Linked DNA regions of Homo sapiens: region 2 is linked to region 1. The links are contacts of gene promoters, found by promoter capture Hi-C in blood cells and fetal thymus (Javierre and others, 2016). All regions are on one chromosome and are shown on one strand. The core of a region is centred on a gene start or on the middle of the fragment in contact, and the rest is flanking DNA. Distances in the headings are between cores, read along the strand shown. Region 1 holds the start of GLIPR1L1 (GLIPR1 like 1). Region 2 overlaps E2F7 (E2F transcription factor 7).

What was found. The method cuts DNA at HindIII sites, captures the fragments that hold promoters and counts their contacts. A CHiCAGO score of 5 or more calls a contact.
Region 2: a fragment that was not itself captured here is called in contact with the fragment with the promoter of GLIPR1L1 in region 1 in 2 of 17 cell types (M1 macrophages and M2 macrophages); the score reaches 5.8 in M1 macrophages.

The regions. Positions count from the first base shown.
Region 1 is chr12:75,330,515-75,335,993 of GRCh38, forward strand. GLIPR1L1 (GLIPR1 like 1) reads left to right here and starts at 4,156. Exons shown (of 6, transcript NM_001304964.2): 1 at 4,156-4,388. The coding sequence starts at 4,215. It also overlaps a transcript of CAPS2 not described here. RefSeq lists a silencer at 3,893-4,002. The HindIII fragment of the contact is 15,549 bases long and covers 2,115-5,479 here.
Region 2 is chr12:77,052,439-77,058,030 of GRCh38, forward strand. E2F7 (E2F transcription factor 7) reads right to left here. Exons shown (of 13, transcript NM_203394.3): 3 at 3,417-3,692. Among named protein-coding and RNA genes, the nearest start is that of E2F7, 10 kb to the right of the region's middle. The HindIII fragment of the contact is 1,509 bases long and covers 2,890-4,398 here.

The DNA of each region.
Region 1 (5,479 bases), core at 2,906-5,405:
GAGGAGAAGAAATTTAAGCATATGCTACAATATCTGCTCTCAAGGAGCTTGCACTTATTTTTTTTAAAGACTGTAATATATTATATAGAGATACATAGATATTAGACATGGATATTACTTTAAATTTGTGTGACTATGTACATATAGATGATTACATGAATAATTGCATATATATGTATGTGTATTTGTGTGTGTATATATAATTAAAATTTAAAATGATGTGTGGAAAGGGCAAAGGCCTAGAAATCAAGAAACCTGCATTTTATTCTTTGCCTTTTTTTTTTTTTGAGACGGAGTTTCCTTCTTGTTGCCCAGGCTGGAGTGCAATGGCACAATCTCGACTCACTGCAACCTCTGCCTCCCAGGTTCAAGCGATTCTCCTGCCCCAGCCTCCCAAGTAGTTGGGATTACATGCGCCCACCACCACGCCCGGTTAATATTTTGTATCTTTATATAGAGGGGGTTTCACCATGTTGGGCAGGCTGGTCTCGAACTCCTGACCTCAGGTGATACCCTGCCTCAGACTCCCAGAGTGCTGTGATTTACAGGCATGAGCCACCATGCCCGGCCTAAATATTTTTATGTATGCTCTGTACACAATATCTTGGCATCAACTCCTCATCTATAAAGGGAAAAAGCTGGTTTGAGATAATTCCAAGGATCCACTCCACTCTAATATGCACTAACTTTCCTAAATTACACAGCCAAGAGTCAGATATTCAAATTAGAAGTAAGAGTTTATGAAAGTTAATCCAGTTCTTTCATAATCATGTTTTTCTAATCTGCAGTAACTTTTCAAAATTAGCTCCCCTCAGAATGTATGTATCAAAACGTGAATATTTCCAGTATTTCCTGGTGCAAATTTGGGAGTAAAAATACAAATAAATTTTTAAAGTATAAAAATAGTGAAGGAAATGAGGTATAATGTAATCACTCTGTATTTTTCTGCTGCACTCCATAAAATTCATCTATCCATTACCCCCACATAGAAAGAAAAGCAAAAATAAATAGCAGAAAACACACATAAAAATAAAACAGAAAGCTAAATTTAACTTTTTTTTTTTTTTGAGACGGAGTCTCGCTCTGTCGCCCAGGCTGGAGTGCAGTGGCGGGATCTCGGCTCACTGCAAGCTCCGCCTCCCGGGTTCACGCCATTCTCCTGCCTCAGCCTCCCAAGTAGCTGGGACTACAGGCGCCCGCCACTACGCCCGGCTAATTTTTTGTATTTTTAGTAGAGACAGGGTTTCACCGTTTTAGCCGGGATGGTCTCGATCTCCTGACCTCGTGATCCGCCCCCCTCGGCCTCCCAAAGTGCTGGGATTACAGGCGTGAGCCACCGCGCCCGGCCTAAATTTAACTTTTAAAAAGTTATAAAAGAACTTAAAAATTCTGGTGCACCAACTAACCTTGGCCATTCCAGAAATAGATGTTCAAGAAAATAACATTAGGACATGCACTTGTTGATTCCTGGCAATTAGACTTTTTACACCTAAATTGTTTTAGTATTTCTGAATATAGCTGTCTAAGCCATTGGGAACATGATCTAAAAAACATAATGTATACAATTCAGACATTTTATTAAAAACGTCTCTTAGAAGAGCAATAATCTTGGATTATGTTTGACTATATATACTCTACTTTTGCCAATCTTTAAATTCATTACTCTATGAAATTTCTGTTGTTGTTACAGGCAGTTAATTTCTCTATACACTAAATGAAACTAAATTAGCTATCTGTTAACCTTTATCCCTATTAACCTTATCCCTATCAACCTTTACTGTTTTGCAGTTCCAAAAGAGTTTGCATTTGAAGCTCAACTTTAAATTTTCATTTACTTGATCATTCATTAATGCAGCCAACATTCACTGAGTACCTACTACTTGAAAATATTTTACTTTATCTTTGTATTTATTTGTTCATTCAGCCACTTATGTATTTGACAAACATCCACTGAACACCTTCTATCTTCAAATATACCCAGTGTTAGAAAAAGTGAAATATATAAGCTTACCCAGCATTTCCTTTTATGTGATTAAGTCAAAAATATTTATTGAGCCCCTCATATGTATATATACATATATATAACAATTAAAATATAGTTTCTGCTCTCAAGAAGCTTACAGTTGTATACAACATTATTAGAAAGTTAAAGAGAACTCATTTATTTATTCGACCAATTTTTATTGAGAGCCTAAAGATTCAGTTCCTGTTCAAGGTGCTAGAGATGTAGCAATGAAGAAAACAAAGCTACTGTTGTGGTGAAGGCTACAATCTGATAGAGAAGGCAGATGTTAAAAAAATAAATAACATAAATTCAGGAGGTAATTAATGCAATGAAGAAAAATAAAACAGGTTAAATGGATAGGCACTGACAGACAGGGGATATAGAATGATCAGGGAAGACTTCACTGAAGGGAACTCTATAAAGAGCACTGCAGGCAAAAGTAACAGCAAGTGCAAAGATGCTGAGGAGAGAGCATCCTTATCAAGCTGATGGATGTGGCTGATGCAGAATAAGCCAGGAGAGAATGCCAGAGAACTAGCCATGGTCAGATTATGTAGTGTCTTTTGGGCCATACCTAGGACTTCAGATTTTTTATTGTAGCCCCCCACTGTAATGTGAGCCAATTCCTTAAAAGTTCTCTTTCTCTTTGTATACAAACATATGTATATGTATATATGCCTATAGACATCTGTATCTCTCTCTGTGTAGATGTATATATGTCTATAGGCAGACACACACACATATATGTGTATACAAACAGATTTATACATAGAGAGAACTTTACATATATAAATGTATGTGTGTATATGTATGTGTGTATATGCCTATAGATATCTTTATATCCAGGAAGAGACATATATATATAGACACATGTAGATGTATATAACTGTATTGATTTATCTATCTGTATACCTACACACACACATATACACACACACACACACGTATATATGTTCATGTCTTTGGGTGTGGGATATCAGAAGCTCAGTTTGGACTATGTATGTGATATGAAAGTAGTATATACAGCAATTCTCCATTAGCTGGTAGTAGACTAGAAATATATTATCTATTGCCCAGTAGAATTTCCATTAGGATCCTTGCATTTTTCGTTTTCTTATAATCTAATTTTCTGCTTTTTATTTTTAAAAAGATAGTAGCTGCATCAAAGTAGTTTGTTTTGGTTTTTGTTTTTTGTGTCAAGGTTGACTATGGCGGATCATTCAGCAGATGTAAGTACGTGTTCACTTGAATTAAACAGCATTGTAAACAACTTCAAATTACTAAGTAAAGGTATTTATTTGAAACATAGAAATACTAAAAAAAATTAATGTCATGGGGAAAAATGCTGGTTTATTACAGAATATCAATATAACTGATGTAATGAATTTAAAACATTAAGCCAAATGACGTTGATTTATATTGCATTGCAGGTAAAATAGACAATCAAATGTACTCTGTCCATCCCAGTCTCAGTGTATCAATTAAAGCAACTCTTGGAGTCTACCAGTCACCATACAGTGGCTCTGTTCCAAACTATCAAAAAGGGAAGATTTTGTCAAGAGGAACTACTTGGCTACATTTTCCAAGCATCTATTGTTATCTATCTAAGCATTCGGTCTCTTCAGACGAAAAAACAGAAGGAAATTATTAAATGTTTGACAAGTTGATAATTTAGGATCACTGTATGTCACTGTATAAGAATTGCCTATTCTTACTCTATTCCCAATCTCTGAGGGAAGTGGCAATATGATTCTAGATTATTTAGAACAATAAAAATCTATACACGGAAGCTGCGTCTAAGAAACGAATATATAGTGCTTTGCACTCGACTGGCCCATTGTCAGCATCCCGCACTTGTTCTTTACCTAACTTGTGTGGCTTGCATATTGCAATCTGTATTACAATCCAGACGCGCTCTGCAGATTACAGATTGGATCCACAGAAAGCAGTTTGGATGGTTGAAATTCCCTCCACCAGAGGGCGACTCAGAGCTTTCCCCTGTAGCTCAGAGCTTTGTGGAAGGGGAACCCTGCTGCCTGTTCTTCCCCACAGCGACACTGACAAGTTGATCCAGCCGCGCTGGGCTCGAGCCTGTGCGGCAGGATGGAGCCAAGGGAGAGCGTGGTGCGGGGGCGTGGGGAAATCGGGTTGCCCCAGCCGTTACTGGTCCGCGCAGTCAGGGCATCCTCCGCATCCTCCACATCCTTCCATGGCTCTGAAGAATAAATTCAGTTGTTTATGGATCTTGGGTCTGTGTTTGGTAGCCACTACATCTTCCAAAATCCCATCCATCACTGACCCACACTTTATAGACAACTGCATAGAAGCCCACAACGAATGGCGTGGCAAAGTCAACCCTCCCGCGGCCGACATGAAATACATGGTGAGAAAGAACCAGGGCTGGGCTCTTAAATCCCTGACTCATCCTGAGGTATCTGGGTGATAAATTTCACGGACTTAACTTGTACTAATTCAATCCGGACTTTACATATATGCAGTTAAAAAGAAAAAAATTCACACCTTGGTTGGGCTGTCTCCTCCAGAGTCATAGGAGTGAACAAGAAAGGAAGACTTGAAGCTGTTCCTTGCCTCTTGCGGGGAAGGTGGGGATGCTGGAGCAGTGTTTGGAAGTTGCTTTGTTGCACCACTAAAGTTATAAGTACTGAACACAGGATTATTTTGTTTTCTTTCTTCCATTTTTTAGCTAGCAATTTCCACCCCCCACAACCAAGATACAAGATACCAAAGAAATAGCCCAGGAATGGAGATTCTCTTGTTCTCTTACTTATTTTTATATCATATGAATCCAAGATCAAAACAACACTTCATGTGTAGTATTATTTGAAAAAAATACAGTACTCTATTGAAGAATAAGCATAAAAAGCATTGGATTATTAAATAATCCATAGAATTTACAAAATTTTAAATACTTGACTATGAATTGTATGATTGGAAATTTCCCTTGCATTGTAACTTTTTCTTGTTTATAAATGCATCACTATGAGCATAAACGTTGATAGTATTAGTCTATTTTATGTGCTATGCAGATGTAGATACAGTATAACTCATATCTATTCCAGCTTTCTTCTTTTCTATCCAGTGGAAAACAAAAGTAATTATAAAATCACAACTCAGGCATTAAAATAAGTTCAAAACTGTACTAGTCTACTGTATAAGAAAATTATATTTTGATGGAGAAAGATTCAAATATGTATCAGAAATGAAACAAGAATAAACTAATCTCTTTAATGCAGAATTGTTAAGATATTTTAATATATAATGTTTACCAGCTTGGGGTTGTCCAAGGCATAAATTAACTAGAAATAAATCTTCAACGGAATTCAGAAATACTAATATTAGTATTAATATGGTTGATGCCTTTAGAGTTTTATTGTAAATGTATGATAAAAAAGAGTAAATGTGGGGTTAAATATAATAAATGTTCTTTATATTTCTTTTGTACTCATTGACTAT
Region 2 (5,592 bases), core at 2,394-4,893, 1.7 Mb after region 1:
CCAGCTAGGGGGAAGAGAAAGACCTCCTGAATAAATGGTGCAGGGACAACTGATGATATGTATAGAAAAGCAAAGTTGTATCTTGACTCATACCATACACAAAAAGCAATTCCAAATGGATCAAGGATTTCATGTAAAGCAAATTTTAAATGAAGAAAATGAAGGAGAATATTTTTCTAACCTTGGAATAGGGAAGAGCTTCTTCAGACACAAAAAACATTACCCTTAAAAGGAAAAAATGAACTATATTAAACTTAAGAACTTTTGTCCATCAAGAAATAACATAAAGGGAAAAGACAATTACCGAACTGAAAGAATAGATACATAACATATATAATAAAGGTTTAGTATCATTATATAATCAACCCCTACAAATCAACATGACAAAAAAAAACCAATTAAAATTGGCAAAGAACACAAACAGGCATTTCACAGAGGAGCAAAAAACATGGTGGCCAGTAAACATGTGGAAAGAAGCTTAATCTCATGAGTAATCAAAGAAAAGCAAATGTATATCACAAAAAGATACATACTGTATAGACATGAGATTAGCAGAAATTACTAAATTTGACAATTTCAAGTGTCAGAGAGGATATGGGTGACTAAAAGTTTATATATTTCTGGGGGGAGGCAAATAGTACTTTGGAAAGCAATTTGGCATTATCTTGTGAACATCTGTATATCTAATGACGTAGCACCTATACTAGTAGGTATGTACCCAAAACAGTAGTTCTCAAACTTTTTGCTCCAAGGACCCCTTTATGTTCTTAAAAACTACTGAGGACTCCACAGGGCTTTTTGTTTATGTGGGTTATCTATTGATAGTTAGCATGTTAGAAATTAAAATTGAGGCAGTTAAAATGTTTTGTGAGAAAGGGGCATTTTATATATTATTTTTCAAATCTCTTTAGTTTCTGGATTAATAGAAGAGAACTGATTCTTGTGCTTGCCTTTTGTAGTCAGTCTGTTGCAATATCCACATTGTGTACTTCCTGGAAGACTCCAGTGTACACTTGGGAGAGAATGGGAGTTCAAATGGCAAAGGTCTTTGTATAATTATGAAAAACAGTTTTGACCTCCTGACTCTCTGAAAGACTGTCTGTGGACACTGAGGTCCCCAGATGACCTTTTGAGAACCACTGCCCAAGGCAAACTTGTATATGTACACCAGCAGACATAAACAAGAACGAATATCATAGCATAGTCTGTATTAGCCCTAAACTGCAAACAACCCAAATGGCTATAAACAGGAGAATGAATAAATTGTGGTGTAGTCATGCAATGGAATATCATACAGCCATGAAAGAACTACAGCTACATGCGAAAACACAAATGAACCTAAAGGATGTATGTTGATTGACAAAAGCAAGTCCTCTAAGACTATAAATACAAATTCAGAAGAATGGTTATTCTGTTGGGGAGAGAAATGTAAATTAATTACATCGCATCCATTTTTGGGCTGAGAGGTAGATTCATGGTGTTAAAGGTACTGCAAAGGATAAGTGTATTTTACATGATCAAATAGTCTATCAAAAGGTAATAAAGACTAGTTTTAAAAAGGTATAAAAAAGTCTGTTTTAACACTGAGTACCCCAAGACAGTAAGAAGGGAACAATAGACACCAGGGCCTACTTGAGGGTAGAGGGTGAGAGGAGGGTGAGAATTGAAAAACTACCTATTGGGTATTATGCTGATTACCTGGGTGACCAAATTATCTGTACACCAAACACTCGCAAAATGCAACTTACCCATGTAACAAACCTGCACATGTACCCACTGAACTTAAAAGTTAGAAAGAAAAAAAAAAACTACTTAAAACACTTGACTTTGATCTAATAAATCAGACATTAAAAGCATCAGTATAGTAAGTTTTCTGGATACAAGATCAATACACACACACAAAAAAATCAATTGTATTTGTATATACTAGAAACAAACTATGGGAAATTGAAACTAAAAAAAAAATACAATTTGCAATAGCATCAAAAAATTTGGAAACCTAGAGATAAATCTGACAAAAGATGTATAACACCTGTATACCAAAAATTGTGAAACACTGCTGAAAGATATTAAAGCCCTAGATTTTAAAAGAAAGTCTGTTTTAAATCCACCGAAATTTTAGGCATTTACTTCCTACAGGTGGTGAACCTTTCTAGTGACTGATCGCTAAAATCTCTCTATAAAGCCTGGGTAGAAAACCAAAATTTTAATTGTTTTAGGGGCGTGTTAAACAACTAGTTCTGCCAAAGTAAGAGATCAACAATGTTACCTTGCGAAAGAGGTCACTAACGATTCCCATTGGCTGATTTTCACTTTGCTATATTTTTGTCAAAAAAATTACAAAAAATCTAATACTTACATGCCTTTGACAACAAAAGGCACATTTAATCTTATTTAGTTTTTAGAACCCCAATAAAACCAGGACAGGTACCACGACCCTCATTTTACAGGTGAGTAAATTGAGATGCAGAGATCCTGAGTGATATCCCCAACTCACCCAGCTAGTGATTTGAACCTAAGGCCTTAGACCAGCTCCTTGTGTGATCCACATCAAACATAAGACGGAAAGGAAGCCAAAGAACAGCCCAGACTTAAAAAAAGGAATTGTGAAATTCCTCTGGCTTCAAGCACATAGGAACTACTGTGTGATTTGTATTTAGTTACATGAAAGAATCTCTTACTACTACCGCTACTCTACCACTGCAAGATATATAACAGATTAAATTCATTCTGTTCTATGAATTTCAAGTTGTAATTCGAGACATCTTTTTTCTCTCTTCCCAATTTCTTCATTTTGGCAATTTTTATAGCTTGAAAAATCCGCCAAAAAGAGAAAAATGGTTAAGAATACTGAAATCTGCAAAACTTTTCTTAGGAAGTCTGAGAAAAAGCTTGATGGGAAGTGAAAATAATTACCTTTTTTTTTTTTTTTAACGAAGTATAGACATGCTGCTTATTCAACAGCACTGGTTCCCCACAGAACAGGTAATTTAAAGATGGCTTAACTTCAATAAAGCCCCAAACTAACCAACTGAACATATATAAGAATAATGGAATTTCCTAAATCAAAAATATTTACATTAACATTATCCCTAAAATCTGGGCAAAATTAAAATTCACAGCAGCATTTAAAGAATCCAAATTCCTTCATTAAATAAAAATGATTAAATATCATTACTTTAAAATAATTTATCATTTTTAAATGAGCCCTGGTCCAGGGAGTATCATACAGAAAAGAAAGCATTCATTATGAAAAATAAGATAGAATGAGAATTCTACTACAAATCAAAAGATATTCAGTTTGCCACTGCTTTTGGCTCAATAGGAGCTGAAAAGTTGACAGTTCTATGATTTTTTAATAATCAAGTAAAATTGTTTAAGTTCTAAAAAATCCCTGAGGAGCACAGTCTGTTTACCTGTAGAGAATCTGTAAATGCATCGTCCTTGTTTTCAATGGGTCGGAATAGTCCCTTTTTCTTCTCCCGGTCCCTTATATCTGGGCTGGCAGCACTAATGAGCATCTTCAGGTTAGCTGTGGGTGTCCATGGTTCCGCTTGCTGTCTGTCAACAAACTTAACTGGAGTAATGGGATTTCTTTCTGGAGTAAATTTTTTTTGCTTCGATAAATCAATTGGTTCATTTTTTATTGGAGTCTTCGGGGCCATCCTTGATCGATCAACAAATATATTTTCCTATTTTAAAAAAGAAACTTTTAGCAAGAATGAGAAAGGGCAGGTATCAGCTAAGAGTATACTTTGTTCCCACCATTCACTAAGACTTGAAAATACAAATAGGACCATATGTTTAGGGCTGAAAAGTATCAGGATAGGACTAACGAAAAGTAGTCATGGGAATAGAAGAGTGGCTCCAATGAGAAGTAGATTATACTCTGCTACTCCTTTTACACCTATCTTTCATGGTATCTCTGTAAAAGAAATCACAACGTATCTGTTACTGTTGCATGTTTATAACAGATGAGGACTATGAGGGCCAATGTGGGTTGAGTCCATATTGTTTCTAAGTGTCACCTTTTTTAAAACACTACTTACAAGTTTGCATTGACTAGTGAAGAGCAACAATGCTTCTGTAGTTCAATGTGCACCAGTGCTAATACAGCACTTAGTAGCAGGACCAGTTAATGGAAGAGCATCCAACAAAATCCCACATTTTAAGCCAACCTAGAGAGCTCTCTAACGTCATTCTCCAGAGCAGTGCATCTCAAACTACCCATGGTAAAGGACTCGTTTTTTTAGATTTCCAAACTCCTGCAAACTGATATGTGACCTTACTTCACAGGACTAATGTGCAACACAACTCCCACCAGATGTGATTTGCCATTTGAGTTTGTCACTCAAACTGACCCACAGCTTCTTCAACAAGAAGAGACCACTAATCATAAGCTTAGATATGGTGGCAATACTGAATTGCTACTGAGGTTTATTTTTCTTACTTTTTTTTTTTTTTTAAAAGATAGGGTCTCACTCTGTTGCCCAGCCTGAGTACAGTGGTGTGATCATAATTCACTATAGCCTCAAACTCCTGGGCACGTGCAATCTTCTCGCCTTAGCCTCCCAAGTAGCTGGGACCACAGACATGCACCACTACACCCAAATACTTATATTTTATTTTTTGGAGATAGGGTCTCACTCTGTAACCCAGGCTGGAGGGCAGTGGCATGATCACAGCTAACTGCAGCCTCAAACTCCTGGGTTCAAGTGATCTTCCCACCTCAGCCTCCCAAAGTGCTGGGATTTCCAGTGGTGTGCATACTACAGTGGTGTGCACACCACTGCACCCAGCTAATTTTTAAAATTTTGTGTGGAGACGGGGTCTTGCCATGTTGCCCAGGCTGGTCTTGAACTTCTGGCTTCAAGTGATTCTCCTGCCTCAGCCTCCCAAAGTGCTAGAATTACAGGCATGAGACACCAGGCCTGGCCTTTTTTAATTTTTTGTAGAGATCGGGGTCTCACTATGTTACCAAGGTTCATCTCAAACTCCTGGCTTCAAGTAATCATCCCATCTTGGCCTCTCAAAGTGCTAGGATTACAGGCATGAGCCACCACATCTAGACTACTGAGGTTTTTAAGTGCTTAACTCTCAAGTTCCGTTCTTAATTTTTTGCACCCTGGTGATAGTTTGTGGAATACCATCTGCCTCCAGACCACCCGTTGATGTAGACTGTCTTAAATAATTCTAAGAAAAGACTAACGATGGGCCCATTGTAAAAAAGGACTAAGTATATAGAATCCACCTTTGGAACTAACAAGTAATTAAAACGTATCTTTCCCCTAAAAAAGTTTCAAAAATTCAATATGAGAATTCGATAATTCAATATTCAAAAACAGAAAGATTCTGCTCTTTCTGTAGTATTCCTTTCCAGTCAATAGTGTGTCATATAATTACAAAGGTAGATGAGTTCTCAGTCACTCCTTCCCTGTACATTCTGTATAGCTACTGAATGCTTGGGTTTTGGTTGAGCAGGGGGTTACAGTAAGTGTTTTCCTATAAATGAGCAACGTGTGAAGAGGTAAAATATTGGGAGAAACTGGAGTTTGTGTAGGCAAGGCAACTCTTGCTCCTTGGATCAGCAGA